Linked DNA regions of Homo sapiens: all the other regions are linked to region 7. The links are contacts of gene promoters, found by promoter capture Hi-C in blood cells and fetal thymus (Javierre and others, 2016). All regions are on one chromosome and are shown on one strand. The core of a region is centred on a gene start or on the middle of the fragment in contact, and the rest is flanking DNA. Distances in the headings are between cores, read along the strand shown.

Region 1 (4,120 bases), core at 92-2,591, 5.7 Mb after region 7:
AACTCACCTGTAGTATCAGCAGAAATTTTATTCAAGCTTAGTTCATCAGTAAGGTCTTCATTTTTAAACTTATTTTTAATGTCTCTCACTTTGTTCATTATGGAATCAATTGTCAATTCTCTGCCACTTAAATCCTCGGATTCCATTTCTAAGAAAAAAACTGAACAGTCATAACTCCTACTTTAACTAGCATCAAAGAAAAAAATGCACTAGCTTTTTAGAACCCAGACGACTAAAGCATTCGTTTTGTGAACACATCTAAATGCAGCTATTATTAGGCTAGTATTAATGGAGGTAAGTGCACAACAACAAGGTACACATCTTTGTAATTTATTCACCAAGGTTTCATAGGCCAAGTATACTTTTTCCCCCAATATAACATCAATGACGTCACACTGTAGAAATCTGCAAATTTAGTGTCACTTAAAAAAAATATGATAGAGTGTTTGCTTGGATTTTGGTAGCGACATACACATAAAGATTGCTTGGATTCTGGTAGTGACATAGACATAAAGAATTCGTTTGGCAATGGGAATAACAATTCCTTTATTCGCCTGCTTTACTTGAGTAAATCTTCCAGTGCAAGTGCTTTCAAAGCAGAATATAAACATGATGGGGCTTTACTGATAATTAGGAAATCCGCAGATTTATTCTTGTGCATATCTAGCAGAATCACGATTTGCTACCTTAATCTAACACTAAGAAACTATTGTACTGGTACTGAGCACTTGCTTATCTGCATGGTGGTGGTGTTTGTTCAATAAAGTGTCTGCAGTCTTATTGTTAATCGTATCTTTGTGACTCTCAAACACCAACTCAGTGTCACTGATAACAATGCTGCCCCGTCTTCAGGTTTAACAATGAAAAAAAGTCATAAAGTTGCAGCAAGGTATCACTCCACCTCTTAAGTCAGGTTTGAAAGATAACTGTCAGATCACGGCCACCCGCTTCTTTCCCAGTTCTAACCCCCAAAACAAGAGAGACTGTCCTTTGGAAAACGATCTTGTGCGCAGGTACCCCACCACCCCTTCTTTCCAGCGTGGGCCACACCCACTTCTTACTTCCTCAACAAAACCTCCTGCATCACCCCACCGGCCAGACCCGCTGAGGCAGTGAGACATCCCCTCCCCCTCCAGCTCGTTTAGCCGCGTCGCATACCTGGCTCCGAGCTGCCCCCACCTCGCCCCACCCCTCACCGACCAGCGCTAACAATGAGCCCCTACACCGGCTGCGGCTGTTCCTCAGTGCGCCGGTGCACCGGTAAGACAGAACTTACCTACAGAAAGCTGCGCTGGGGAAATGAAAAGATGGAACCCAAACTCCTTTCCGCAAACACGTTTGAATTTCCCCGTCGCTATCACTACGGTCTCCTATTGGTCAATGCTAGCCACGTAGAAGCGACAGTCGTGATTGGTTCTTGTGCGACGGGGGCCGCCCCTCCTCCTGCGTCAGGCTAGGCCCGCCCCGGAAGAGCCTGCGGCCGCGACCCCACCCGTGCGGCGCCTGGGTTGGTAGGGTGCTGGCACTTTGCAGGCGTTCCCCGGACGCCCGTGGGCGGGCTTTCCTGGTCTTTCCAGTTTAACCAGGCCGAATTTTTGCCTGGGAGGTAGCCACTCCCGAGCAAACCTACCCAGTGAGAGGAATATAGGGGCAGGGACGGCTGCTCCTAGCATCAGGACCTAAAAGATGCACCTTGGGCCGGCCCTTTACTGACCCCACCGCCACCCTTCTCCTTCGTTTCCCGCGGTTCTCACAGCCTGGCTTAGAGAGGATGTGGCAAGAAAGGATCTTTCACTGAGCTACGTTCAGCCCTGCCGCCAGCTCAAGAATTTCAGTGCTTTTTATCCTTGAGCTTCTGCTTATGCCCTTCCATTATCCTTAAATGACTCCACGCTCTGTCTTCAAGCCAAGACCCTCCCCCTTGTCAAAATTCTGCGCAGAACTCAAGCGCCCATCGTGATTGCCCTGTCTGAAGTCGCCTTATCGGCCCCCCTCCCTCGAAGCCTGCCCCACTTAAGGGCTCAGGTGTCCTCAGGGGTAAAAACATCTCCCTAGTAATAATCTTCGCGGGTGCGAGGCTCTGCCGCTAAGTGGCTTTGTGGTCCAGGGCAACGGTTACTCCTCGTCTGCAAAACTAAAAGGGATGTGTCTGTTGTGCCAGCATTATGACATATATTCTGTGGTAGGACGGGTTGGTTTTGTGTATGTATAGGAAACTAACTGCAGCTGTCACTTGTTAACTCCAAAGCTATCCTTAGAACCCTCACATTCCCAGCTCTGGATAGCCACCCAGCTAGCGTGAGAGCCCTTCTCAATCACTTAATGCATCTTTCTGTGTCAGCTAGCTAGTATTTCTGCTTCAGCAGAGCAAAATGACTTGCTATACCATGGTTGGCTAATCACTTACCTTTGCACCATTGCATCTAATGCTTCTGCCTGGAAAGAGTTTATTATTCCTCCAATTCTCGTTGATCTGTTTGCGGCCTGATCACAAAGCTTGCATTTTCCTTAAAATACTGTTGCTGGATGACCTCACCCTAACACTTCTTTCTGTACTCTCGTTTGGTGGTCTCCTTCAGTCTTCTATTTTTAAATACCATCTATATGTTGATGGCTCCCAAATGTGTATCATTAGCTGAGCTCTCCTCAACTCCATACTCAGATATCCACTGCCTACTTATTAACATCTTCACTTACATGTCTCATACGCATCTTGAACTCAAAATGTCCAAAACCAAGCCCCTGATCTTCCTACCCAAACCTGTTTTTTTTACAAAATCTATAAAAGACAAATTCATTGTCTTAAATTTTTTAGCCCCAAAACCTTTGTGTCATCCCTGATCCCTTATCTAACTCATAAGCAGATTGAGTCAGGGCTGGCACAAGAGATTCCTGGACTCCTACCAGTTCTCCCCACCTCCACTGCCACCACTTCAGTCCAAGGCATCTGCATCACTTAACTGATGTTACCTGCAGTAGCCTCCTGGCTGGTCTCCCTGCTTCTGCCCTTGCCTCACCTCAATTTATTCTCTGACATAGCAAAGTCATCTTAAATCAGATTATGTCACTACTTTGCTCAAAACCCTTCAGTGCTCCCTTTCTAGCTCGGAATAAAATCAAAAGTCCTTGTGATGGTCTGTGACTATTGAGCACTTGAGTATGTCTAGTGCAACTGGGAACTGAATTTTTAAATCAATTAACCTTAATTGATTAATTAAATTTATATTTAAATTTGAAAACTGATATCTAATGGGATTATTTTTAAACTATTTAAAGTAATTTTTTTTGCTTTCTTTTTTCTAAACTTGCATTAGTCATGAATTTATTGGAAGACTTTTAAGTATACTTGGAACAATGTAAGTATATGAACCTACTTTTTCAACTGTAAATTTTGTGAGAACCAAATGCAGATGAAGTATTTCCAGTGAAAGTGTCTGAGTATGAAATGTGATGTACTGTTAAGTATAAAATACACTCTGGATTTTGAAGACTGAATAAGAAAAAGTAATAAACATTGATAATTTTAAAAATATCAATTACAGGTTAAAATGATATTTTTGCTATATTGAGTTAAATAAAATATATTATTAAAATTAATACCACCCCATCACAGAGGAGACTAAGAAGACATGACAACTAAATGCACTGTGATATCATAAACTGGATCCTGAAACAGGAGGATGACATTAATTGAAAAATTAGTAAAATTCAAATAAAGTCTGAGGTTTAGTTAATGAAAATGCACTAATGTTGGTTTCTTGGTTTTGAAAAATGCATCACAGTAATGCGAGATCTTAACAGAAAAACAATGAACAGTATACAGCAATTCACTGTACTATTTAATACACTTGGAATTTTTTTGTAAATTAAAAATTATTCAAAAATAAAAAGTTTATGAAAATTTAATTTCACCTGTTTCTTTTTATACTTTAATATGGCTAGTAGGAAATTGAAAATTACATATATAGCTTACATTGTGTTTCCACTGGACAGCGGTGATCTGTAAAATCCTACAGTTTTACCTATTTGACCTATTTATTTATCTTGTTTATTTTCTGACTCTCCAAACTTTACCCCCACTAGAATGTAAACTCCATAATACAGGAATTTTTGTCTACTT
Region 2 (3,748 bases), core at 370-2,869, 6.6 Mb after region 7:
TCCTGTGGAAACCTCCACCGTGCATTCATGAGAAAAAGTGAAAAACAACTAATATAGTGTTATTCATAAGTTTTATCTGAGGGACCTCCAGGGGTTCCCAAAACATACTTTGAGAATAGCTGAACTAGATACTACTGTGGAAATTTTTTTCTAACTTGATAGCTAATTATGAAGTAATACAATAGTATTTTTTTCCAATATAATTTTATTTAGATAGTGAATATTGTTTATTTACTGAAAGACTAATAAAAATATTAGCATTTCATGTCATGGTTTCAAATGCCGGTATAAATTAAGCAGTATTTTGAAGTTGTTCCAAAAGTGCTCAAACTTTTTATAGTGGGTAGCTTTATTTTATGATTGAAAGATATTTAAAGCAGCAGTTGGAATTTTGCCTTTCTCTCTGTAAGGTTTTTGGTAAATTATGAAATTCAGCATAGATGTTAAGTGTTCTTAAATTTTTTAATAACAAACTATCAGTTCTTAATTCTTAATTATTCTGGAGATTTACTTTACATCAAAGACGCAAAACAAAATATTTTATACTTGGATGAATTTTTTTATTGTTGCTCAAAGATTTTGAAAATTAAAATGATAAACTGAAACCTACTATATTTGTCTTTTACATAATAGGTGAAGTATTACAGACACTTAGCACCTGATCACTTGCTGCAAATATGTCATCGACTAGGACCTCTTCTTGAACAAGAAATTCCTCAAAGTGTTCCTGGAGTACAAACTTTATTAGGAGCTGGAAGACAGTCTTTACTACGCACAAATAAAAGTATGAAAATTTTCTCATAGGATTTAGACATTATTTATCTCACTTTTGTTTTTGTGTTCTTTGTATGCATAAAAATACATGTGTTTAATAGGCTGCAAGCATGTTGTGTGGAAAGGATCTGCTCTGGCTGCGTTGCACTGTGGAAGACCACCTGAGTCACCAGTTAACTATGGTAGCCCACCCAGCATTGGTGAGTTGTTTGAGTTCACTAGTAGTTAATAGCCTCTTGGTAAAGAGCTTTTGAAAATGAAAAGGTTTTTTAGTTACTGTGGTATTAGAGAACTTCATATTATGTACATCTGCATTCAAAAAGAAAAAAATAGATTTTTTTTCTTAGTAGTAGTTTTAATAGTGAAAAAGTCATGTATAATGAGGGATTGTGCACATTGCACCTTATGTAGGCCAATTAGCTCATTGGAATTTTATTTTTACGAAAGTTCCATATTAAGGTATATATTATTAGGTCGAGTTAGTAGAATCAATATATAATTCAGATTAGTTATAATGGTAGGAGACAAAAGTAGTTATCTTTTTAAGAGCACAGTACTTTTTTTTTTTTTTCTTTTTTTGGCTAAAGTTTCAAAGAGGGAGTACTGATGCAAGTATGTCTTCTTGAGATGCCTCCTAGGTTCATGCCTTTCACATCTGCTACTACCAGGCCCTTGCCTTACCCGGATTAATACAGCATCATCCAAACTAATCTTCTTGCCTATGGTGTCTTCTATCTCTCTCTCCCTCCCAGTATAGTGTGTAACACTGTAATAGTAACCTTATTCAGTTCTACCTTTGTTGTGTCACTCTTCTGCTGAAGATAGTATAAAGAGGTTAAGATATTTTAATAGTGTTGTACTTTCTCTAAGTGTACTCCTAATTTTCAGAGACCTTCAAAGTTCAATCATAGCTTCTTTTCCACTCTCATGTTCCTGCCTAGCCAGGAATGTTACTCTTCTTTCTTCCACCTGTTCAAATCTTACTTAATTCTTCCTTTTCTGGATACTTATTATACAGATCGTAAGTTTATATGACTTTTGTTTGGCATTTTTATATATATATATATATATATATATATATATATAATTTTGCTTTCAACTTTTTGTTTCCTTTTATTTCTTGTCTTTTAAAAATATAAAAGTGGCTTTTAAAAATACAATATGATAATCTGTGTTTTATCTGGAACATTTAGTCATTTACATATAATCATTGATGTACTTGGGTTTAAATCTACTATCTAACTTGCTACTTTGAAGGCAATCCCTTTTTCTCTAATTGTTTTTAAGATTTTTTCTCTTTCTGGTTTTCTGCAGTTTGAGTATGATATGTCTTGATGTTAATTTTTTAAAAATTTGTCTTGCTTAGATTCTGGAAATGTCTTTTATTGACATTGAAAAATTCTCAGTCATTATCTTAAAATAACCTCTGTGTTCCTTTCTCTCTCCTTTCCTATGGGACTTAAACACTTTATCTGCTTCGTTATCCTTTCTTCTATGTTTTACATGTTTTTGACTCTCTGATGTATTCTGAATTGTTTGCTCTGACTTACTTTTCAGAGATAACGTATGTGATATCTGCGTGGTGGGTAATCATCTATGATTTTTTTTAAAACATAAGATTGTCCTGTTTAAATAATTTCAATATATAATCTTGCTATAATAAACAACCATTAAAACAACAAAAAAATTTGAGAGACGAGGGTATATTTGTACTTAGAAAAGTATTCTAAGGTGGTATAATAGGATTCCTGCAAGAAGGGAAAGATAAAATATTATAGGAGTTTTCCCATTTAGGAAAAGTTTATCCTGTCTTTGAAAAACTATAGATCCACATAATAAGGAGAACACGTTATGCTTGTTCTTTCAGTACATTGTCAGTCAGGCCTGTGGTAGGTAATGAAAGTGTAAGAATGATTGATGGTAAATAACATTTGCTTTGTGAGTAATTCCTGTATGCCAGACACTGTTCTAAGCATTTTCTATTTATTTACTCTTTTAAAACCTTAAATGTTCTATAGGTAGGAACTATTATGCTTATTTTACAGAGGAGACTGAAGCATGGAAAGATTTTGGTAACTTGACCAAGTTCACACATGCAGTGAGAAGTGAAGCCAGGATTCAACCCAGACTGTTTGACTCCATTATGCTATGCTTTATTCCCAGTAAACTGAATTTATTAATAATAACACTTGGCTACTCAAGAAAATTGGTGTTAGTCATTTTTTGTAAAAGGGAACCAAATATTTATAAAATCAAATATAATATTTTAGGCCACGTCGTTGATGGTCAGATTAGTAAATACTGCTGACAAGGAGAGAGGAACATTTATCTTCCCTTATTCACAGGAGATACATTCTGAGATCCGTAGTGGATGTCGGAGACAACAGATGGTACAGAACCCTATATATACGTATGGCAAAAATACCTTGGGTTTTGCATCCAAGCATAGAAATGTAATTGATTCATTTAGGTAACAGAATTAATTGCCAAGCAGGTGATTGATGTACCTTTCTGAAAGACTATTTTATTTTTAGAGTTTAAGATAATTTTTTTCTCTCTCTCTTCCATTGTGATTTTCAGGAAAATCTTTGCTTTATTTTAAGAAACACCTGTAGTGGATTGCCCATTTTGCCTACTTTTAAAAATTGTATTTACATATATTTTTTGAAAGCACTGCAGAGAAGCTAGACTGACCAAAATGACTCAACTTGCATAGTCATAGGTTAGTGTCTGTGTTTTGCTAGAGTTCACCATGGTATATATTTTGTTTTATTATCGCTATAAAGTAATGAACAGGATGGTGTTGGGGAGAAATAATTCATCAGTCTTCTTGCCAGAATAGTTGCCTGCATAGTGGTACAATGCATTATTTCAAGCTGTTACAGTATGGTTCAGAAGATTGAAAAAAATATATATGAATGTTTGTAGTACTGACTTATTTCTTCTTTTGTTGAGTCTTTGCCATTTTCTGTCT
Region 3 (4,008 bases), core at 69-2,568, 6.6 Mb after region 7:
TGTTTTATCAACTTTAGGGCATAATTACTGGGCTCTGTACCTTGGCTAAGTAGTATTTTGTATATATATTTAGTTTTCTTTAGGGCTAAATTCGACCGAGAAACCCTAGTGCTAATTACCCAATGTAGATGGCAGTCACTGTTAGAAAAAAAAAAAAAAGCCTGTATTAGAAGATCATCTGTAGGTTAATAATGTGCCTGCAGATCAGTCAACATATATTTATTGAGCACCTTCTTTGTCCATAAGTTACCAGTATAGAAAATAAGTACAGTAGTAATTTAGATGGAAGAGGACATTTTCAGCTGGAGTCAATGTATCAAGCTTTGGGACAGAAGATAAACTTCAGTCAGATCTTGAATAATGATTAGAATGAATGAGTTGAAAGGGAGAACTAAGGGAGAGCTAATAGATTCCAGAGAAGGAATCATTATACAGGTGTTTGGCAAGATTCCCAGTTTAATTATTATTTTTTAATAATGCAAATGACGTATTCCTTTATCTTCACTTGTTATAAAGATGTTTTTAAATATCATTCTGCATGTCAGATTTCGAGTGTTCAAGTGTTACTGATTTATGAAAAGTACACTGGGTTCCAGTTTTAAGTGCCTTTGTAAGAAAAACTATTTCATAGACAGCTTTTAAGGAAATAACATATAAATGCTTTAGGTTTTTAAAGAGCACTAGCCAGAGAGTAAATAAATCTGAGCTTTAATCCTAGCTTCATGCCTTACTTTGTGATTTTTGGACAGGTCATTTAACTTACAAATTAAGTTATAAAGTGAGAATGATAGTGCCTGACTTATTTCAGGTGAAACAATGTTTTTATTCATTACTTTAAAGACTTTTAACTAGAAGCCATATATATCAGAAAGCTTCTTTATTTTTACCTGCACATGACAAATTGGAGTATGTGAATTCTTAAAAGGTGATCATGTAAGAAAATTAATTTCCAGATTACATTTATTTTCCTTCTTTTTCTTGGTAGCGGATACTCTGTTTTCAAGGAAGCTGAATGGGAAATACAGACTTGAGCGACTTGTTCCAACTGCAGTGTATCAGCACATGAAAATGCATAAACGAATTCTTGGACACTTGTCATCTGTGTACTGTGTAACTTTTGATCGAACTGGCAGACGGATATTTACTGTAAGTAATTGCTAAAGTATTATTTATATTCATATATGTAATTGAGGAAATATTGCTTATAGGTGAACTTGAAGTAAAACCTTGCTTTTTTTTCTTTTAATAGGAAACCGGAAATTCAGGTGGTTTCACTTACTCTAACAGAAGAGTTTAGTTAAATTTGGACTTTATCCAAATTCAGAAAGTTTCTAAATGACATGTTGCAGCACAGTCACAGTTATTATATGGTTGTACATCATGAATAAGTATGGTTCTCAACATATATCAAATACACAGTTTGACATTTTGCAAAATGGCATAAAATAATTTTAATTTTGAACTAAGGACATCTAAGTATGTTGAGAGATTATTAAATGTGCCTTTTTATAATTGTATGAGATTATTGAATATACCTTTTTATATTATCTGTAGAAAATCACTTGCTTGTCTATGAGAAATTTCCCTTAAAATAGTGATTTTAAAAAAGCTAAAAAATTCTGAGCATATCTAATACTCTTATTACCTGTTATTCTTAACAGTTCATTCTTCAAAATATCTGATGTTTTGTTTATAGAGCCTCTTTGGGTTTGTTTATTTGTTATTGTTTCTTGTAACCTGTTGAATAGAGAAAAGCAAAGCTTTTGAGCTTTATTTTAAGTGAGAAAATTACTTTTGGAAATATTTGATTTTCAGGTGCCTTAACATCTACATTCATTAAGCATAATACTACACTATTATGATGATATTTATTATTAAACACTACCCTGTGGGCTGAAGGTATGCATTCATTCACAAGGTTTTTAATTTCTTTTGAAATAAGAAAATTTGAAGTGGAAGTTAAATGGAAATTTTCCTGTCTTTGAAGAGAGCAGCTGTGAATTTTACGTAGTTATGACAATTATAGATTCCTCTTTTTAGTAAATTTGCTTGTAAACTGAGACCTATTTATACCTACTACTTCTCCTCTATCCATACACCCAGTCATCTGTAAAACAGCTAAATAGCAGGATGTAGGAATGCATTTTTATACTTTTCTTTTCCCTTGGCTCTAATCTACCTCAGGCATTTGCACATCACTTCTTATATCAGTATTTTCCCTTTTTACGTTCTCTTGTATCAAGTATTATTTTCAGAGTGGAAAATAGGCATCTCTATATTTGCTGAAGTGCCTGACATACCTACAGTAGTAATTTGCTCTCAAATAGTAATCGAAAATTAATTTAGCCATTCAAGTTTAATATGGGTATATTCAAATTCACCTCTCAAAAACCTTAAGTAAATTTGATTTTTCTAATGTTTGAAAGAATTCTTTCAAAAACAGTAATAAATTAAAATAATGAAAAAGGAGCACTATATTGTGCCAGTAGGTCAGTATAAAGTTATGCCATTGTAAAGAACCTTGTAGGAATTCTTTCTTTAAAAATGATAGGGATTGTAAGCATTTGTTTATCATATTTTATGAAGCATTTTACATGTTTTGATATTAATTAGACATATAATCTCCTGGAATTTTTTTAGGGAGAATGCAGTGAAATAGTGTGCTTTTTGCTATCTCATGAGTGTGGTAGGTACAGACTTGGAAGAGCTTTTTGAACCAGGGTTCAGCATGCTGCTGCCTGCGTCTCAAACCCAGTTTGTCACTTGTTCTTATAAATGCAATTTTATTGAAACACAGGCATGTTCAGTTGTTTATATATTGTCTATGGTTGCCTGTGCACTACAACAGCAGAGTTGAGTAGTTTTGACTGAGAACATATGGCCTGCAAAGCCTAAAATATTTATCCAGCTCTGTACAGAAAAAAATTGCTATCCTTTTCTAGACATTTGATTCTTTCTTTTAAGGGCATGTGATTTAGAGAACAAGAATAATATGCGAAGAGGAAGCTGCTTGTTGGTTATTTCTTTAGTTGAAAGCACATCAATTAAGAGAAGAAAAGTAGCACTGTACTATTTTATATGGTCTTACCAAAGTCTAAAGATGTTTATTTTTTAAGAATGTGATAGAATTTGTTTTGCTAAATTCAGTCTCATTTGTAATTTTTTACTGGTGGTTTGGAGTTACAGATTTCAGAATGTTACCTTACAATAAGAAATAACGAAGATATGAGGGCACTATTTTTTTGAAAAATTCTTGTATTTTTATTATTTTCACTTCAAGTGGTGGTAGGGTACACATATGTTCACTATTCATATTGCTCATTAATAAAGTGGGTGCTGAGTGTTTTTTGCATTTCACTAGGCACAGACTAGACGCTAACTAGTCCTATGGAAATCAGTCTTGAAAATAGATAGAATCAGCCTTTAAGATAGTAGATCATGATTGACCAGTGAAACACTCCTGTGAGAGAACATACTGTTATTATTTTTGGAGGTAACAATTTGGTAATGGATCAACCAGTATTTCCTTTTTATATAATTGGTATTTTAAGACCTTGCAGATTTATTTCTAAGATATTTGTGTATATATATTTGAAAGCTTTTTCCAAGGGATTCTCTTGAGTCCTTTCTGAACAGGCACAGCTGGAGGCATACAGTACTGTGGTTAAAAGCATCAGCTTTGACATCAGAGGGCTTTTAGTCACAGCTTTACCACTTCTACTAGTGAAACTTTGACAGATTACCTCATCTCTTTAATCTCCAGTTTTCTCATCACCTAAAGAGAGAGGGGAGTAGATGATAATAGTACCAACCACATAGGATTTTTGTGGGATTACATGAAATAATGCATATAATTAGTACTGAACAAAATAGAAAGCAGTCATTAGGTTTTTCCTACTGCTACTTATAGATTTAAGTAAATTTTATCTTTTATTTTTTATCCAAATAAAATCTTATTTATAAATGGTATACAAGAATTAAAAAGGAAATCATTGTAATTGATAATGA
Region 4 (4,234 bases), core at 993-3,492, 6.5 Mb after region 7:
TTGAGACAAGACAGGCTAGAGTGCAGTGCAGCCTCCACCTCCCAGGGTCAAGCGATTCCCACACTTCAGCCTCCCAAGTATCTGGGATTACAGGCATGTGCCACCATGCCCAGCTAATTGTTTTTTGTGGGTGTTTGTTTGTGTGTGTGTTTGTTTGTTTGTTGAGATAGAGTCTCGCTCTGTCACCCAGGCTGGAATGCAGTGGCGCGATCTCGGCTCACTGCAACCTCTGCCTCCCAGGTTCAAGCAATTCTCCTGCCTCAGTCTCCTGAGTAGCTAGGACTACAGGCATATGCCACCCGGCCCAGCTAATTTTTTGTATATTTAGTAGAGATGGGGTTTCACCGTGTCAGCCAGGATGATCTCCATCTCCCGACCTCATGATCCGCCTGCCTCGACCTCCCAAAGTGCTAAGATTATAGGCCTGAGCCACTGTACCTAGCCTTGTGTGTATTTTTAGTAGAGACGGATTTTGCCATGTTGGCCAGGCTGGTCTCGAACTCCTGGCCTCAAGTGATCTGCCCTCCTCAGCCTCCCAAAGTGCTGCGATTACAGATGTGAGCCACTGTGCCTGGCCTATATTTCCTTAATATTAAATATAAACCCTAATTATTGAATTGTGTGTATTTACACTAATAAAGTTTCACTGAACATACTGGCACACAACTTTCTTTATTTTTAGTTATCTTTTATATCTGATTGCAAGAGAAATATTTTCCCTGCAAAGTGGTCCTCAGAAAAGAGAGAGTTGCTATTTATTTCAGTTCAAAGTCTTCTAAAGAAGCGTTCTTAATTACTACTTTTATCTTGAACAATAAAATAACATTTACAAAAGACATAGTAGCCTGCAGTGACCTTAATCAATGTAATTTGAGTTTATAGAAGTCACCTGTTGGAATTGATAAGCCAAGCAGGGGAGGATATGGAAAATAAATTTAACGTAAGTTTGATTATTAATCCCATGAAGGGACCTCTCAATTCCAAGTATTGGATATTTAAAGATTACTTTAAAAGCAATGTAGTAATAGAGGATCCCAGACATACACCTACAGGATCAATGAAAAACAACCAAGCCATTGTTAAACATCGCTTGGTGGCTTTGAGTAAAACTTCCAGTGTCTGTTTAATGTGTCATAGAAGTATTTGAATTTAAGGAGACTACCTTTTAACTCAAGAAACCTTATAAGAATTTCATGGACAGTGCCCTCATTTGTGGAGAGAATTAACCTTGTGTTAAGTAGTTATGTGTTCATTTTAGCTGAAGAGCGACAGAGTTAGGTATAGGCACATTTCAGACCTTCTCGTGGTGTGTTATTTGAATTTTTTGGTGCCATAGTGGTTTTCTTTTTAACCAATTTAATACTGGACTGCTTTTTTCCCCAGCCTTGAGTTTGTAACTGAAAAAAAACAATAAAAGTAATAATTTTAAAACATTGGCCAGCAAATTAGAAAAAGATTATCTCAATGTAATACACTCCCTAGGTTAAAAGAAATGATTGTTGGTCTCTTTGCACTGTTATATATACCATCAGCTTTTCCTCGTTAGCATGGATAACCTAGGAGTTGAGATTGGATTTATTCTGGGGCTGCTGGCAAATGGTTATTTGAGTTTCATAATTACTGTAGGCCTTCAGCTAATTCGCTGAAGTCGTAAAACAATAGCCTTTGTCACTTAAACTCTTAGAAGTAAAACTCTAAGTAACTAAGAGCCTATGTGTACCAATGAATTTGTACTACATGTACCAATACATGTACCAATACATGTACCAATGAATTGGTACTACATGTACCAATGAAGGTTTTTTGGAAGTTTAACATAAGAAAGGTCCAACACTGTGCTGAAAATCCTGAGCCCTCCTCTTTCTTGTCTTCCATGGGCTGAAGATCACTCCTAGTGCAGTAGCGTTAAACTTCTCTGCCTCCTGCCTCTCCCTCAGTGTCCTTCTCCACACTAACAAAGCCACAGACTGCTGCCATCTAAAGCCGTTCCTAAGCAGCTGTTGAAAGGGTGTAAGGATTTTCTTACACTCTTCTGATACCTTCTTGAGTTTGGAGGGAGAAAATTGGGCTCATCACCCCACAGTGCCTGTTTATGTTGTGGTAAGCACTGTTTACATGAAAGAAGGTCAGCAAACCTTGTTGATTCTTCATGGATGGCCTATGGAATAAAAATTCCAAGTTTCTTCCCTTGGTTTCTGATAGGGACTGCTGGAAAGACTTAAGGAAAATACAGTTCTGATCCCTTCAGTACATTTGAGTGTTCTGCACATGCAGGACCCAGGCATCTTTGTGTAAAGAAAGAATGGGGATGGCACAGTTGGTCAGCTGTTGAAGGAATCCACACTCCCTCTGCCCATCTCGACTCCCACACTCCTTCAAGAGTTCTGAGTCCAGTGCCTTCATTATCAGTACAAATGAAGCAGTTATATTACATGTCTTGTACAGAAGAGGAGGCAATATAAACCAGATTGATACGATATTGAAGAAATAGAAAAAATGCTGTGAGTAAACCTAGTTATGTAATTTGTATTAGGGAGTAGATATGGTACTGTTTTTAATAGAGTAGGTTTGCTTTTAGTCTTTTTCTTCTCCCCAGTATGGATAATATTTTTATTTAGAAAAAAACATAAATACAGAGAAATCCAGGAAATAATATAATATACCTATTTACCCACCACTGAGAATTCACAAATTGGAGTCTTTTAAAAATCATTGTTCATTTCAGGCCTTTTTAGAAAATAAATTATTAAAGTTCAGTTTCCTTTGAAACATCCCCTTGGTTCCTTTTTCCTTATCATCCCCCCTAAAGATAACCATCATCACGAATTTGTTGTGTATTCTTCCAGTTCTTGCTTTTATACCTTTATGACACATCCATCCATCCATCCATAATATTGATTTGTGCATGTTCTAAAATTTGTATAAGTGGTGGGGCGTGGTGGCTCACACCTGTAATCTCAACACTTTGGGAGGCCAAAGTGGGTGGATCACCTGAGGTCAGGAGTTTGAGACCAGCCTGACCAACATGATGAAACCCCATCTCTACTAAAAATACAAAAATTAGCCAGGTGTGGTGGCACGCACCTGTAATCCCAGCTACTCTGGAGGCTGAGGCAGGAGAATCGCTTGAACCCAGGAGGTGGAGGTTGAAGTGAGCCGAGATCGCGCCATTGCACTCCAGCCTGGGTGACAGAGTGAGACTTCGTCTCAAAAAAACAAAAAAGGCAATTTGTAGAAGTGTAGTCCTGTACATGTATTACTCTGTTTCTTCCCTCTGTCACTTGTCATTATAATGGAAGGGTATACTATGTCTAGGTATATTGTGATTGCTGATTTATTTGGACTTTTTATGTTTTCTATTCTTTGTTTTCCTTTGTTTTTTACTTTCCTGCTTTTTATTGGTAAATATGTTTTATTCCACCCCTCCTGATTTGGAAGTTTATAGATCCTATTTCTGTTCTTACATTTTTTAATGGTAACTTTAAATTTTATTTTAACAAAGTCTAAAATTAATCTGTATCTGTATCATCCTCCAGAACAAAACCAGGACCATAGTATCCTTTAACTTCTTATCTACCGACCCCACTTCTATCTTTCATGATTGTTTTTGTCTAAAGCTGTGCTATATGGTAGCCATTAGCTGCATGAGTTTATTAAACACTTAAGAATGAGGAGCTGAATTTGTTATTTAATTTTAATCAACTTAAGTTTAAAAACTGATATTAGAATCAGCGATTGGTAAATTATAAATGTTTGGAGCAACCTGGGTAAAACTACTGTAAGTTTTATGAATTCTAAATACAGATTAGATGTTCCTGATAAAAATTTAGCATTTGAATAAAAATGTGTTCTAAGTATAAAACGAACACCAGATTTTAAAGATTTAGTACAAAAAAGTCTGTGAAATATCTCATTAATCTTTTTTTGCATTAATTACAGGGTGAAATAATAAAGTTTTAGATATAGTCAGTTAAATAAAATATTAAAATTAGTTTTACCTGTTTTTATGCTTTTTTAATGTGGCAATTAGAAAATCTAAAATTATATGTTGTATTTCTGTAGGAAAGAACTGCTGTAGAATTTCTGTTGAAACTTAAAAACACAATAGGTAATGTTGTTTACGATTAGTGGTTAATTAAATTTATTAGTATATTTTTTACATTTTTTTCTTACATAGTTTTCCTTCCTTCTAGATTTGTTTTTCTTATTACTAAATTTGAACCTTTAGTAATAG
Region 5 (3,693 bases), core at 489-2,988, 6.6 Mb after region 7:
TTAGTATAGGGCATCACACTGGTGCAGCACACTTGGGCTTACAGTGCAGCCCAAGGCATTTGCAGCAAGTATTTCCCACTAGGAATGTAAGGAGCTAGGAGGTTACAAGGCTTGAGGAAACAATCTAGAAAACCACAATACAGCTTGTTGGTCCTTTCCCCACAAATAACCTTTTTAAACCAGACCCATAAAATGCAGTTTATTATCTAACATTTTTAAGGAGAATCTTTTGTTAAATGTTAACAAAAGAACGACTATCCAAATTCCCTTTAAAATGCAATCCTTAAAAAATATTGAACTCTCAAGTCTTTTTGGAAAGTGCTTAAATCATCTGGAGATAAATATCATTTGGTGTCCTTGTTTTCTAACAAATGGCTTTTTCTATTGTTTCCATTAATTTCACCCATATTCGTTTTTTTAAAAACAAGGCCCTTATCCTCATCAGCAAAACACAGATGTATGATTTAGCATATAAAATCGGTAATTACATACTAATTTACGAAAGATTTTTTTTTCTCCTTTTCGTCAGTTTTCAAGAAGTCTTCCCGTGATTAACTGTAAACAGGAATGGTTTACATCTCAAATTAGAAGCCATTAATTAGCATGACGAAGTCAACTGCAAGATACACAGATTATTTAAATTATTTAATCACTATTCACCTTGGCTAAACTGTAGTATACTCTTTCAATATCCTTAGGCAGGTTATCGATCTGTCACTAAATTACCTCCAGATCAGTTAGACATGAATATTAGCGTCCTTTCCTTTCCCTCAGGTTTACATTCTCCCTTCTCGTAAACACTTAAAAAAGCTTTAAGGTTCTTTAATTCCAAATACCTAATTAGCCATCACTAGCCTTTTTGTAATAAGGAAAAAGAGTATCTGAAGTACAAATCAAGAGTTCGCTTTGCCCGTTTAACAATAAAAAACATTTAAAAAACGTACGCCAAAGGCAATGGCAGTAATAAAAGAAATATGCAGAGGTGGCTTCAGCAAATAACGGGTTTGCAAAACGCAAGTGCTTAACAAAAAGCAGCCCAAACCTCTATTGCAATATACAGCACTCCAATAAATTACACAACACTTGCATAGGCTGCAGAAATAACGCAGGACAAGACTTACACAGATGCCAATCCGCAGCATTTATACACATGCACATGGCAAGAGACAGAAACCAAACACTATCATTCAACTCGGGAAGGGTAGCGCGATCCCGAGCTTGCCCAGCGTGAGAGTGCTCTCTGCGTGTGTGTCTGTGTACGCGCGTGAGTGAGACCCATCCTTGGGGCATTTCCCCTCTCTGGGCAGTTTTGCTTCATTTGTTTCATATTTCTGCTACATAGAAACTAACTTCCATCTCAGCTCCAGCCAGCGCCGCTGAATAGAGCCTGTGCTGCGGCTCCGTGTGCGTCAGATCCCTCCGCGGAACCGTCCCCGGCCCCCTCCCTGCCACTATCGGCCTCCACAGAGAAAGCGCCTTCCAGCCAACCGGCGGCTTGGGCTCCGACATCTTCTCCGACTGGAAATAAATAAATAAATCGCACGCCCTGCGGGGAGGAGCGGGTGGGGGTCTCACTGTGCCGCGTGCGGAGCGCTGGGGACGAGGGGTCGGAGGCACTCCTTTTTTAGCGCCGGGGGGCGGGGGCGCGGGCCAGAGCCGGGGCCGAGCCCTGGGCCGCGAAGGCGGCGGACTCCTTTCTGCGGCGGAGGGATCCGCGGCGGAGGCGGCCACGGCCGTAGTCGCTGCCTGAGAGTTGTTGTTTCCTCCTCCTCCTCCTCCGCCTCCGCCGCCGTTGCTTGAATGGTGGAGCCGAAGCTCGGCTCGTGAACACACACTGACAGCTATAGGGCAGGCGGCGGCACCGTCCCCGCTTCCCCTCGGCGGCGGGGTGTCCCGTCGGCGGCCCTGAAGTGACCCATAAACATGTCTTGTGAGAGGAAAGGCCTCTCGGAGCTGCGATCGGGTAAGTCGGGGGGCTGCCGGGGCCGCTGGCACCGGGCGATTCCGCCCGCGGTCCCCCGCCCCCCGCCGCCCGACCGCTCAGCCTGTGTGTCTCCCCGTCCCTCTCTCCCGCGCAGAGCTCTACTTCCTCATCGCCCGGTTCCTGGAAGATGGACCCTGTCAGCAGGCGGCTCAGGTACGGCGGCGCGCGGCGCGGGCCGGGCCGGCGCTCGCCGCTCGCGGGCGTGGGGGAGGGAGGCGGCGGCGGCGGGGCCGCGGCCCGGGGCGCGGGGCTCAGCTCTCCCCGCTTTGTTGTTGCAGGTGCTGATCCGCGAGGTGGCCGAGAAGGAGGTAAGGGCGGCGGCGGCCCGGCGCGTCCCGCCGCCGCGCGGCCGCCTCTGGGCCGCTGCGCCGCCGCTGCCGCCGCCGGCAGGGCGCGGGGCGCGGGGCTCGGGGTCCCCGCCGGGGCGCGGGGCGGGCGGGGGAGGGGAGCGGGCGGGTAGGGGCCGGGGGCCGGGCTCACGGGGTGTCCTCTCCCCGCAGCTGCTGCCCCGGCGCACCGACTGGACCGGGAAGGAGCATCCCAGGACCTACCAGAATCTGGTGAGACATTCACGTCGCAGAGCAAAGAAACTTTTCCCTGAGTCGAATAAAAATTGAATTTCCCGCAATTTTTTACAGAGACAAAAACTTGGCCCTAGAACGTGAAAGCTCCAAAGGCCATGGGGAGGGTTGGGAGGCCGGCGCGGGGTCTGCGGGGGCCAGTGGCCGGGGGTACTCGTACTTCGGGGCCGCAGGGGCTGCGGACAATTTATTTGTGATATTTTGTTAATGTGCTAGAAATAAAGATACGTCATGAGTGTTGTGCAGTGCAAGGCCGGAGGAGGAGGGGCCGGCGCGCGCGTCCGTGCGGGCGCGGGGGCGCGCGAGAGTCGGCGGCGGCGGGAGCGGCGCGAAGAGGGAGAGCGCGCTCGCTCGTTCGCTTGCTCGCTCTGCACGCGCGGCCGGCTCGGCTTTCTCCTGCCCTACACAATAGCTGGTGACTAACTGCTCCGAAGTGGCATTAGCATTTCACAAGCAGGCTATCCAGCCGCTGCGGTACCGTGGCAAGACATTATTTTTTCCCCCTCTGTCGTTTATTTTGTTTTCCTTAAATTCAGTCCTGGGTTTTTTGTTGGAAGGATTCTGATGTGTGATGATAGTTGGTCAGTGCTTCGTCTTGCATTTACTAAAACACATCTTTGCAGAAGTGTAAAGCCTGTAATTCCCTAAAACCAGAAGTTTAGTAGGCTTTTTTTAATTCTTATGGTATGCCTCTCGTTTAATTAAAAATTATTATTGGAGTACACTGAAGAGTTTTGATTTTTGTCCACATATTTACTGTGGGATGGAACTTGGCCTATGAAAGTTGTGTTTATATTGGGACATATTTTGTTTAATAGCTTAAAAACCTTAATTTTGTGGGTTGTCAAAATGAGTATTTTAGGAATCTTTAAAAATTGCTTTTCAGAAGTGGATTTATCACTTCAGTATTGTGATTGGAAGTTACTTTAAAGGAGCTATATTTTCTGTAACACTTTCTCCTAAACTGATACAGGTTCGTTGTGTGAATATGTGTGTGGGGCAGTTAAAGCAGTCGCACCGGACCCACCAAGCCTTTGAAATTTATGTAGTGTGTTGATTTTATGAGGCTTTTGTAACTGTTTTGAGATAGTTATGATTACTAATGTTACTTCATCAGAACTTCTCTAA
Region 6 (3,788 bases), core at 662-3,161, 6.7 Mb after region 7:
TGGAAGGTCGTTAAGCATTCTAACATGAACCCTTAGTAAAACTGTATCCTGTAAAATATTCAGTAATTTTGCAAAAGTGTGTGTTTTCTCTTTTAACCTTGTGTTAAAGACTAGAAAATGTGGCAAAAATATTAAGTTTTGAATCTGGGAAGTAGATATATGGGGATTAACGATACTATTCTTTCTACTTTCTTATATATTTAAAATTATTATAATAAAAAATAAAAATAGAGTCTGAATGTTCTATCTCTATTTTGGCTATATAAAATGGGAATGTTCATTTGTAAATATAGATATTCATAGGAAACTCCATATCCTTTACAATTTCTTTCTGGACTTACACTACTATGGCAGAGTAAACAAGTAATTATGTATTTTTATTGACTTCATACAGATGAGATTAATTTTTTTCTGATAACTGGCTTTAGATAATGTCATGTTTTTAGCTGAAGATCAGTGATAGGAAACTCACAGCTTCCTGAGAGAAAAAGCCCCAAACAAGCTTACTTTTAGTTTTGTATTACAAAACAAAATAGATAATATTAGTCACCATTGTAGCTTGCATTTGTTTTGCAGCTATGATTTTTTTTTTTTTATTTCAGAAGTTCAATTTCTTTTACAGAAATCCACATTGAGGGTACTTTGATAGTAGATAGGGAACCAAAGGTAAATATTAATTATCTTATCCCACTTGTCTTATTTGCTGGTGAGTACACAAGTGCTCTTTTTAAGTGGTTTAATAAAGAGCTTTGTGTAAGCTAACACAAGTATTTAACACTTTTTGGTATTTAAAAATATACTTGTTCAGAAGTGGACAGAACAGGTAGATTTATCAGTGTTAAGATTTTGAATTAAAATTTATGGGGTTAATTCTATTAATATCCATTCTTACTTTAAGGGTTCTGATGACTGTCTTGTGAAAATATGGGCAACAGATGATGGGAGGTTGTTAGCTACCTTAAGAGGACATGCTGCTGAAATATCAGACATGGCTGTAAACTATGAGAATACCATGATAGCAGCTGGAAGTTGTGATAAAATGATCCGAGTCTGGTGTCTTCGAACCTGTGCACCTTTGGCTGTTCTTCAGGGCCATAGTGCATCTATTACATCACTACAGGTAATTGTCTTAATCCCTATACATTGTTGTTGTTGTTGTTGTTATAATGTAAAGTAAATTTAATGAAGTCACTTTTGGTTATTAAATTTTAAGAAGTTACTTTTATAATCACCTTTATAATCCAGTATATAAGGCCAACTAAAATGAAGACAGGAGTATGTCTGCTTTCTTTATAAATATATGGACTTTAAATAACATAACCTTGGTAAATTCTTGCCATTTTCTAACTGTTGTTGTTAGTTGCTATTTGTATGGCAAAAAGTAGATTTTATTTTGACTGTGTCACTCTTGTAAAGATTTTTTTTCTGTGATTGTCTTTTCAGTTCTCACCATTGTGCAGTGGCTCAAAGAGATATCTATCTTCTACTGGGGCAGATGGCACTATTTGTTTTTGGCTCTGGGATGCTGGAACCCTTAAAATAAAGTCAGTTTCTATTTTATTTCATAGATTAAATGTGTTTAGTTTAATGAGTGAAATTGCAAAAGTATAAAGTAGTCGACAATAGGAATACATTTACTTTTTCTCCTTGAGTAAATAATAGAAATCCTCTTTTGGCTCTTTACTAACCTGTTTTATTTTTATTCCTCCCCTTTTTTTATGTTTCAAAGAAAGTTTCTCATGTTCACATTTTTTTTCTCTTTATCCTAATCCTAGCTCTTTCCTTCAGCATTTACCTGTTTTATTACCACTCCTTTCTATGTGCTGCATAGTTTTAATAGCTGCTTTTGATGCTCAGAACTTAATCTTAAGAATTTCTAATGCTGTTCTTTAGAATAATTTTAATTATTGATGCTACTGAATCTATAAACTTTAGATTTTATTTTAGATCTAGGAAAATGTAGGGAGACAGAATCATTGAAGTTTCACTAAACTGCATCAAGGTAGATAGATGTATTCCCCTCCCTCCCCATAATAACATTTTGCATTTGTGCGGTCGCCCATATTAATACTTCGGTTTATCAAAACAAGTTGGCTGGATAGTATTATCTTTGGATTAAGGGCACTGAAATGGTTAAATGACTTTCCCATAGTTAAAACTATGTTTAAAAATTGGCAAGGCCAGGACTAGAGCACTTCTCTGCCCTTTGATGCTTTCTATACCATATCTTTTATTTATTTATTTATTTATTTATTTTTGAGACGGAGTCTCACTGTGTCGCCCAGGCTGGATTGCAGTGTCGCGATCTCAGCTCACTGCAAGCTCTGCCTCCCGGGTTCACACCATTCTCCTGCCTCAGCCTCCCGAGTAGCTGGGACTACAGGCGCCCGCCACCACTCCCGTATAAGTTTTTTGTATTTTTAGTAGAGACAGGGTTTCACCGTGTTAGCCAGGATGGTCTCCATCTCCTGACCTCGTGATCCGCCCACCTCGGCCTCCCAAAGTGTTGGGATTACAGGCATGAGCCACCGTGCCCAGCCTCTATACCATATCTTTTAAGTGGATGTAGTGGGGAGAGGAAATAGTGTATTTGCTCCATGGATAGTCTTTGAACAAGAAAGTAGTGTATTCAATTGATTATTCAGTTGATTTCACAGTGTTGAAATGGCCATTTCTGCCACTCGGGGTGGAAAGTCATTCAGATTAGAAGGTATATATCAGTAATTATCTCTGACTGCTATGTATAAATTAGCAACCCAAGTTGAGTTATTTAATAAAATAATATATGTATGCCTTTGTTATTTTAAAAACAGTAGTGTTTAGATAATTGTTTGTAATGCAACACATGCTTCTTTAACTTCATGTATATGAACATTCTTGTAGAGTGGTTCTTATGGCAGCTTGGGGGCCATGGTAGCTCGAGTAACAAAACTACTTCATTTGAAAAAAGATTGTGATTTAAAACATGGTTCTTTGGACAAAGCAAGTTGACTTCACTTCAGTTGCATCCCTCGTATTTAAAGTCTTTCTGTAGATAGATAAAAGTTGAAATATTTTACTGATGTATATGGACAGTAGCAATAGTTAATTGTTAATTGTTGCTACTGTTTTTTAACCTCCTCATGGACCTGATGGGGATACCTTTCTCTTTTCCTGTCTTATTGTTTTAGAGAAGAAAAAGTGATTAGCAATGTTCAAATTGGGATAGGAACAGAAAATGTTTTACAGAATTAAACTCACACCTTATTTGTGCTTCTTGAGGATTTTATTGCTAAGTACAATAACATTTCATGTTTCTGGATGCTTGAGAAGTAAGCTTGTCCATATAAATGATTTTTTCAGAACCTTTATGTAGAATCACATATAAACCACTACCCTAATACAGTATTTTTTCTCCATGAATGTTTTTATATAGATATAATTAGGAATATATATATAATTTTGTTTTCTTAATATTTTACCATAGATATTTATATGTATTTTAATAGCTTGCATTATGTTCAATAGAGTTGTTATATACAACTTAGTAATTTTTTTATTTTTGGACTTCAAAGTTTTTTCTAGGTATTTATAAGTAATATTCTTTCCTATTCCTATATTCTTTCCTATTCTTGTCCCTTAAAATTTTTAAATTCAGAGTTCAGGCATAAGAATGAGTACTCTGGCTGGGCACAGTGGCTCATTCTTATCTAATCCCAGGACTTTGGGAGGTCAAGGAAGGAGGATCACTTGAGTTCAGAACTTTGAGACCAGCCTAAGTAACAGAGCAAGATCTTGTCTCTACAGAA
Region 7 (3,824 bases), core at 765-3,264:
AAGTCAGGGTAAGGAATCACTGTTTTATATGGCTTTTGACCAGGTGATGTTTGTGGTCTTCAGAATGGCAGAAACTCTATCTCTACGAAAAATACAGAAAAATTACAGGGCGTGATGGCGCGTGCTTGTAGTCCCACATGGTTGGTGGGCTGAGGCAGAAGGATCACTTGATCCCGAGATTGCAGTGAACAGAGATAGAGCCACTGCACTCCAGCCTGGGTCACAAAGTGAGACCTTGTCTGGAAAAAAAAAGTCATCTATATGTACTGATATGGAAAGATGTTTATGATATTTACAAGACGGACAAACAAGTTGCAGAACATATAGATCCCATTTGTATGTGAAAAACGAAGTACATATATTTGCATTTGCATAGGAAGTCTCAAAAACTGTTAACAGTGGTATTGCTGAAGAGTACAACTAGGGAGAAGATTCCCAGGCATGTGGAAAGATACTTTCACTTTGCTTTTTTTGTTAACTCTTTTTAAAAATTTTTTTAATACAATAGAGACAGGGTCTTGGGCTCAATCCTCCCACCTCAGCCTCCAAAAGTGCTCTAATTACAGACATAAGCCACCACACCCGGCCTACTTTGCTTCTTATATCCTTTTGTACTGTATTGTTTGTTTTACTATTTACTATGAGCAATATGCAAATTTATGTAAGACATTACAAAGTAATACAAAAACCGACAAAATGCCCGGCCCAGTCAATACTTCATCATATAGGTTCCTGTTAGAGAAAAGTGCTTTTCACTACTATCTTTGAATGTGAAGTTTGATCTTCATTCTAATTTTCTAAAAAGCCACCGAATGTATTTGTTCATTCATTCATTCATTTAACCATTACCGACAACCTACTTAATGCTAGGCACTGTTCTAAGAAAAAATAAACAGCAGAGCACGAAATCAGATGTGTTGCTCCCACACTCTAGCAGAATCGGACCGTAATCAAATGCACACATAAACAACTTTAATAAGTAGTGCTTTGAAATATAGAAGTGAAGAACGACCTGAATTTTCAAATACTGAAATGTTCAAATGTCGTGTGCACACACACACACGCAGACATATTCACTCGAACATGCTAATTAATCAAAGCACTGCTTTTGAATTTTGTGTTTGTCGTCTGGATAAAGTATTCAGGGATACTTCTCAAATTAATCTTTCTCTCGTTTTCAATATAACTAATTGAGTACAAAGAAGTTAAAAATTAGCAAAGCATTTCAGCTGTGTGACCTTAGGCAAATTACCTGGCTGTTTTAAGCCTCAGTTTTCTCCTCTGCGAAATGGAGTATTGAACCTCACGTTCGCTGTTTGAGGGAGACTTGTATGGTCACGTTTAGTGTAACCGGATGCCTGGCACGAGGAAGCGTGAGGAGGAATGGATCCCCATGGGGCCTTGATGCCCGCCCTGAGGCCCTGCAGGGCCGCACGCCGGGGCTGTTCTCACGTGGCGCTTTCCGCTTTTTCACCCAAGCGTTTCTGCCAGCCAACTGCCCTTTCCCGGAGTGCTGCGGCCAGGGCTCGCCCGCTCCTCCGGCGGCCTCCGCTGGGGGCCCACTACAGCCCAGCGCCAGCCAGCCAGCCAGCCCAGCTTCTCGAATCGGTCCTAAGCTGAGGCCGCCCTGCGCTGCAAAACTTGTGTCCACTCTCGGACCCAATCTGTCCTGGACGGACTTGGCTCGTGGCAGGCGAAAGCGTCGTTTCCAACTGCAGCTGTTTGAATTCTGGCGCCACACCCGCGCCACGTAGGGCCAAGTCGGCCGCCAGACTCGTAAGAGACGCTTCGCAGTGCGCCTGCGGGCGCGCGCCGGGAAATGGCCGGGCGCGCGGCCGGCCTGCGGCGCGCTCCACAACGCGGAACGGGCCTCAGAAGAGCCACCGCGCGCGCTCCCGCTAATTCGCGACCACACCCCTGTCTACTTCCATGTCCAATAGGTGCGAGAGGGCGGGACGGCCTCGTTCTGACTCCGGGAGGCTATATAAGGAGCTACTGGCTGCGCACTTCGGTCTTTTACGTCGGCCTTCGCGAGCGTCTGGGCGGGTGGTAGGTGAGTGGGTATTGCGGGCTAGTATCCGAGCAAAAGATGGTGGCGCAGGCCGAGTTAAGAGCTTTAATCCTGTGAAGACATCTTAGTGAAGAGTTTAGAGTGCTGAGAGTTGAAAGCTTGCACGTGGGAAACGTGCGGCCGGACTGCCACATGTACTGAGGTTGAGTCGTGACGGCCACAGGCTCCGAGTTTTGGCGTGAGGAACCGCTGATCGGCCACGGGCGCCGAACTTGCTGGCCTCCGGCATGTGCCTGAGCGGCGGCGGAAAAACCACCTTAATTGGGGCGGAGGGTTAGTTTTAACAGCAAAGGGCCTTTACTAAAATGGCGAAGGCCTTCCGTCGGCGTTGTTTTAAAATGGGAAGCCTCGACCCTGTATTGAAACTGAGCTGTTCGAAGGCGGCGTTGTGTGCAATTCGGATTAATGAAGGGGAAGGGTTTTGTGTGGAAAAACGCCTTGGAGTGTGACATTTCTGCGAGAATGCTTAAATACCGATTTCCCGCAGGAACAATGGCGCTGTCTTCAGTGGCACAGTGGAGCAGCTCTGAAGATGCAAAGGTAAGAGCTTAGTTAAGCTTAGTTTCCAAACTAAAGGAGTAAACCTGTTGATTTACAGGAATAGGAACTGTTGCATCGTTTGAAATTTACTTTTTTTTGTTAGATACACGAAAAAACTTCCAGAACATCTGGGAGAATATTTAATGGAAAATCGCTTGGTTAAAACCTGACACTTTTAACAGGTATGTGTTGTTTTAGTACTTTATGATTGAGCATAGCATTTAATCCACACCTAGACTAAATCAAATTTTTTTTGTCAGTGAACAGCGTTCTGAGTGTGGACGAGTAGCCAGTGAAGATAATGAATGTCGAATGTGACTGACTAGCAGCTTCATTTTGAAGTAGGTTGTATGGCTTAAAAGTTCTGTAGTATTTGTACTATAATACTTGCCTTTTAGCATTACCTTGGTTTGTAGTCAGTGTCACAGAAGTGCAGTTTAATGTATTATGTGTACATATACAAGGTCTGATTGGTCTAATCAATGATGAAACCTATCCCGAAGCTGATAACCTGAAGAAAAATAAGTACGGATTCGGCTTCTGAGATTAAGACCAGTAATTCAGAGGTGGAGTAAATTTTGTTGCCGTGATTTTATAACAGTTGTGTTATAAAATCCTGGGTTTTTTTTTTTTCTGCCAACAGTGAGGGTCGCTGTCTGCCCATTGATAGAGGCCAGATTGTCTTGGAAGTTCCAAAGTTGCAACGATTTCTGTAAGTGGAGTTTTTCTGTTTGCTTAGAGATCAGTGAATATTGTGTCCTTGGTCTTATCTGTGATGATCTTATCCCGAACCTGAACTTCTGTTGAAAAAAAAAAACTTTTACGGATCTGGCTTCTGAGATGGACCGTTATAAGGACAATATTTTTTTTTAATACTTTTAATGCTTTTACATATGTTGTAATGTTTGTAGTCTTGTAAGAATCTCGTGTTTTTCCTTTTCTAGGGCTAGTGCCACGAGGTTTACTTGACTGTTGTGTGAAAAGCTGATAAGAAAACCATCCAGAAAAAAGCTCTTCGTTTTACAAACATGAAAATAAAACATGTAATTTTGGATTATGTTCCTTTTTGTTATTACTTTTAAATAGGTCCTGAAATAACATGGGGAGCATTAAATGGAAAATCCACTAACCAGCCTTGTAATCAAATTACTGTGAGTGAATGTTTCGGGTTTGTGCAGGGTACAATGTAAGGGTTTTTGGATCAGTGTAAGAG

What was found. The method cuts DNA at HindIII sites, captures the fragments that hold promoters and counts their contacts. A CHiCAGO score of 5 or more calls a contact.
Region 1: the fragment with the promoter of TTK here is called in contact with the fragment with the promoter of SNHG5 in region 7 in 3 of 17 cell types (total CD4 T cells, fetal thymus and total B cells); the score reaches 10.0 in total CD4 T cells.
Region 2: a contact is called between a fragment that was not itself captured here and the fragment with the promoter of SNHG5 in region 7, in 2 of 17 cell types (neutrophils and monocytes). The highest score is 14.8, in neutrophils.
Region 3: a fragment that was not itself captured here is called in contact with the fragment with the promoter of SNHG5 in region 7 in 1 of 17 cell types (activated CD4 T cells); the score reaches 5.6 in activated CD4 T cells.
Region 4: a fragment that was not itself captured here is called in contact with the fragment with the promoter of SNHG5 in region 7 in 1 of 17 cell types (monocytes); the score reaches 6.9 in monocytes.
Region 5: a contact is called between the fragment with the promoter of PHIP here and the fragment with the promoter of SNHG5 in region 7, in 8 of 17 cell types (total B cells, activated CD4 T cells, neutrophils and 5 more). The highest score is 12.5, in total B cells.
Region 6: a contact is called between a fragment that was not itself captured here and the fragment with the promoter of SNHG5 in region 7, in 3 of 17 cell types (monocytes, neutrophils and total CD4 T cells). The highest score is 15.7, in monocytes.

What each region holds. Positions count from the first base shown.
Region 1 is chr6:80,001,870-80,005,989 of GRCh38, reverse strand. TTK (TTK protein kinase) reads right to left here and starts at 1,341. Exons shown (of 22, transcript NM_003318.5): 1 at 1,277-1,341; 2 at 8-148. The coding sequence starts at 146. RefSeq lists enhancers at 1,740-1,859, 1,430-2,304. The HindIII fragment of the contact is 2,460 bases long and covers 39-2,498 here.
Region 2 is chr6:79,057,704-79,061,451 of GRCh38, reverse strand. It overlaps PHIP (PHIP subunit of CUL4-Ring ligase complex), which reads left to right. Exons shown (of 40, transcript NM_017934.7): 5 at 634-784; 6 at 876-974. The region is part of intron 1 of LOC124901346 (a long non-coding RNA gene); the gene reads right to left. Among named protein-coding and RNA genes, the nearest start is that of PHIP, 19 kb to the left of the region's middle. The HindIII fragment of the contact is 5,266 bases long and covers 1-3,748 here.
Region 3 is chr6:79,039,981-79,043,988 of GRCh38, reverse strand. It overlaps PHIP (PHIP subunit of CUL4-Ring ligase complex), which reads left to right. Exons shown (of 40, transcript NM_017934.7): 7 at 986-1,146. The region is part of intron 1 of LOC124901346 (a long non-coding RNA gene); the gene reads right to left. Among named protein-coding and RNA genes, the nearest start is that of PHIP, 36 kb to the left of the region's middle. The HindIII fragment of the contact is 888 bases long and covers 875-1,762 here.
Region 4 is chr6:79,219,440-79,223,673 of GRCh38, reverse strand. The region is part of intron 1 of HMGN3 (high mobility group nucleosomal binding domain 3); the gene reads left to right. Among named protein-coding and RNA genes, the nearest start is that of HMGN3-AS1, 12 kb to the left of the region's middle. The HindIII fragment of the contact is 7,289 bases long and covers 1-4,234 here.
Region 5 is chr6:79,076,299-79,079,991 of GRCh38, reverse strand. PHIP (PHIP subunit of CUL4-Ring ligase complex) reads left to right here and starts at 1,738. Exons shown (of 40, transcript NM_017934.7): 1 at 1,738-1,963; 2 at 2,079-2,137; 3 at 2,263-2,292; 4 at 2,485-2,544. The coding sequence starts at 1,924. It overlaps LOC124901346 (a long non-coding RNA gene), which reads right to left. Exons shown (of 2, transcript XR_007059652.1): 2 at 2,726-3,693. RefSeq lists an enhancer at 1,311-1,360 and silencers at 1,481-1,720, 1,851-2,020, 2,520-3,019. The HindIII fragment of the contact is 4,735 bases long and covers 813-3,693 here.
Region 6 is chr6:79,023,275-79,027,062 of GRCh38, reverse strand. PHIP (PHIP subunit of CUL4-Ring ligase complex) reads left to right here. Exons shown (of 40, transcript NM_017934.7): 8 at 899-1,120; 9 at 1,444-1,544. The region is part of intron 1 of LOC124901346 (a long non-coding RNA gene); the gene reads right to left. Among named protein-coding and RNA genes, the nearest start is that of PHIP, 53 kb to the left of the region's middle. The HindIII fragment of the contact is 2,814 bases long and covers 505-3,318 here.
Region 7 is chr6:85,676,923-85,680,746 of GRCh38, reverse strand. SNHG5 (small nucleolar RNA host gene 5) reads left to right here and starts at 2,014. Exons shown (of 6, transcript NR_003038.2): 1 at 2,014-2,053; 2 at 2,559-2,611; 3 at 2,715-2,793; 4 at 2,872-2,952; 5 at 3,255-3,323; 6 at 3,556-3,740. It overlaps SNORD50B (small nucleolar RNA, C/D box 50B), which reads left to right and starts at 3,088; the gene lies at 3,088-3,158. SNORD50A (small nucleolar RNA, C/D box 50A) reads left to right here and starts at 3,379; the gene lies at 3,379-3,453. RefSeq lists enhancers at 2,044-2,203, 2,374-2,433. The HindIII fragment of the contact is 13,479 bases long and covers 1-2,171 here.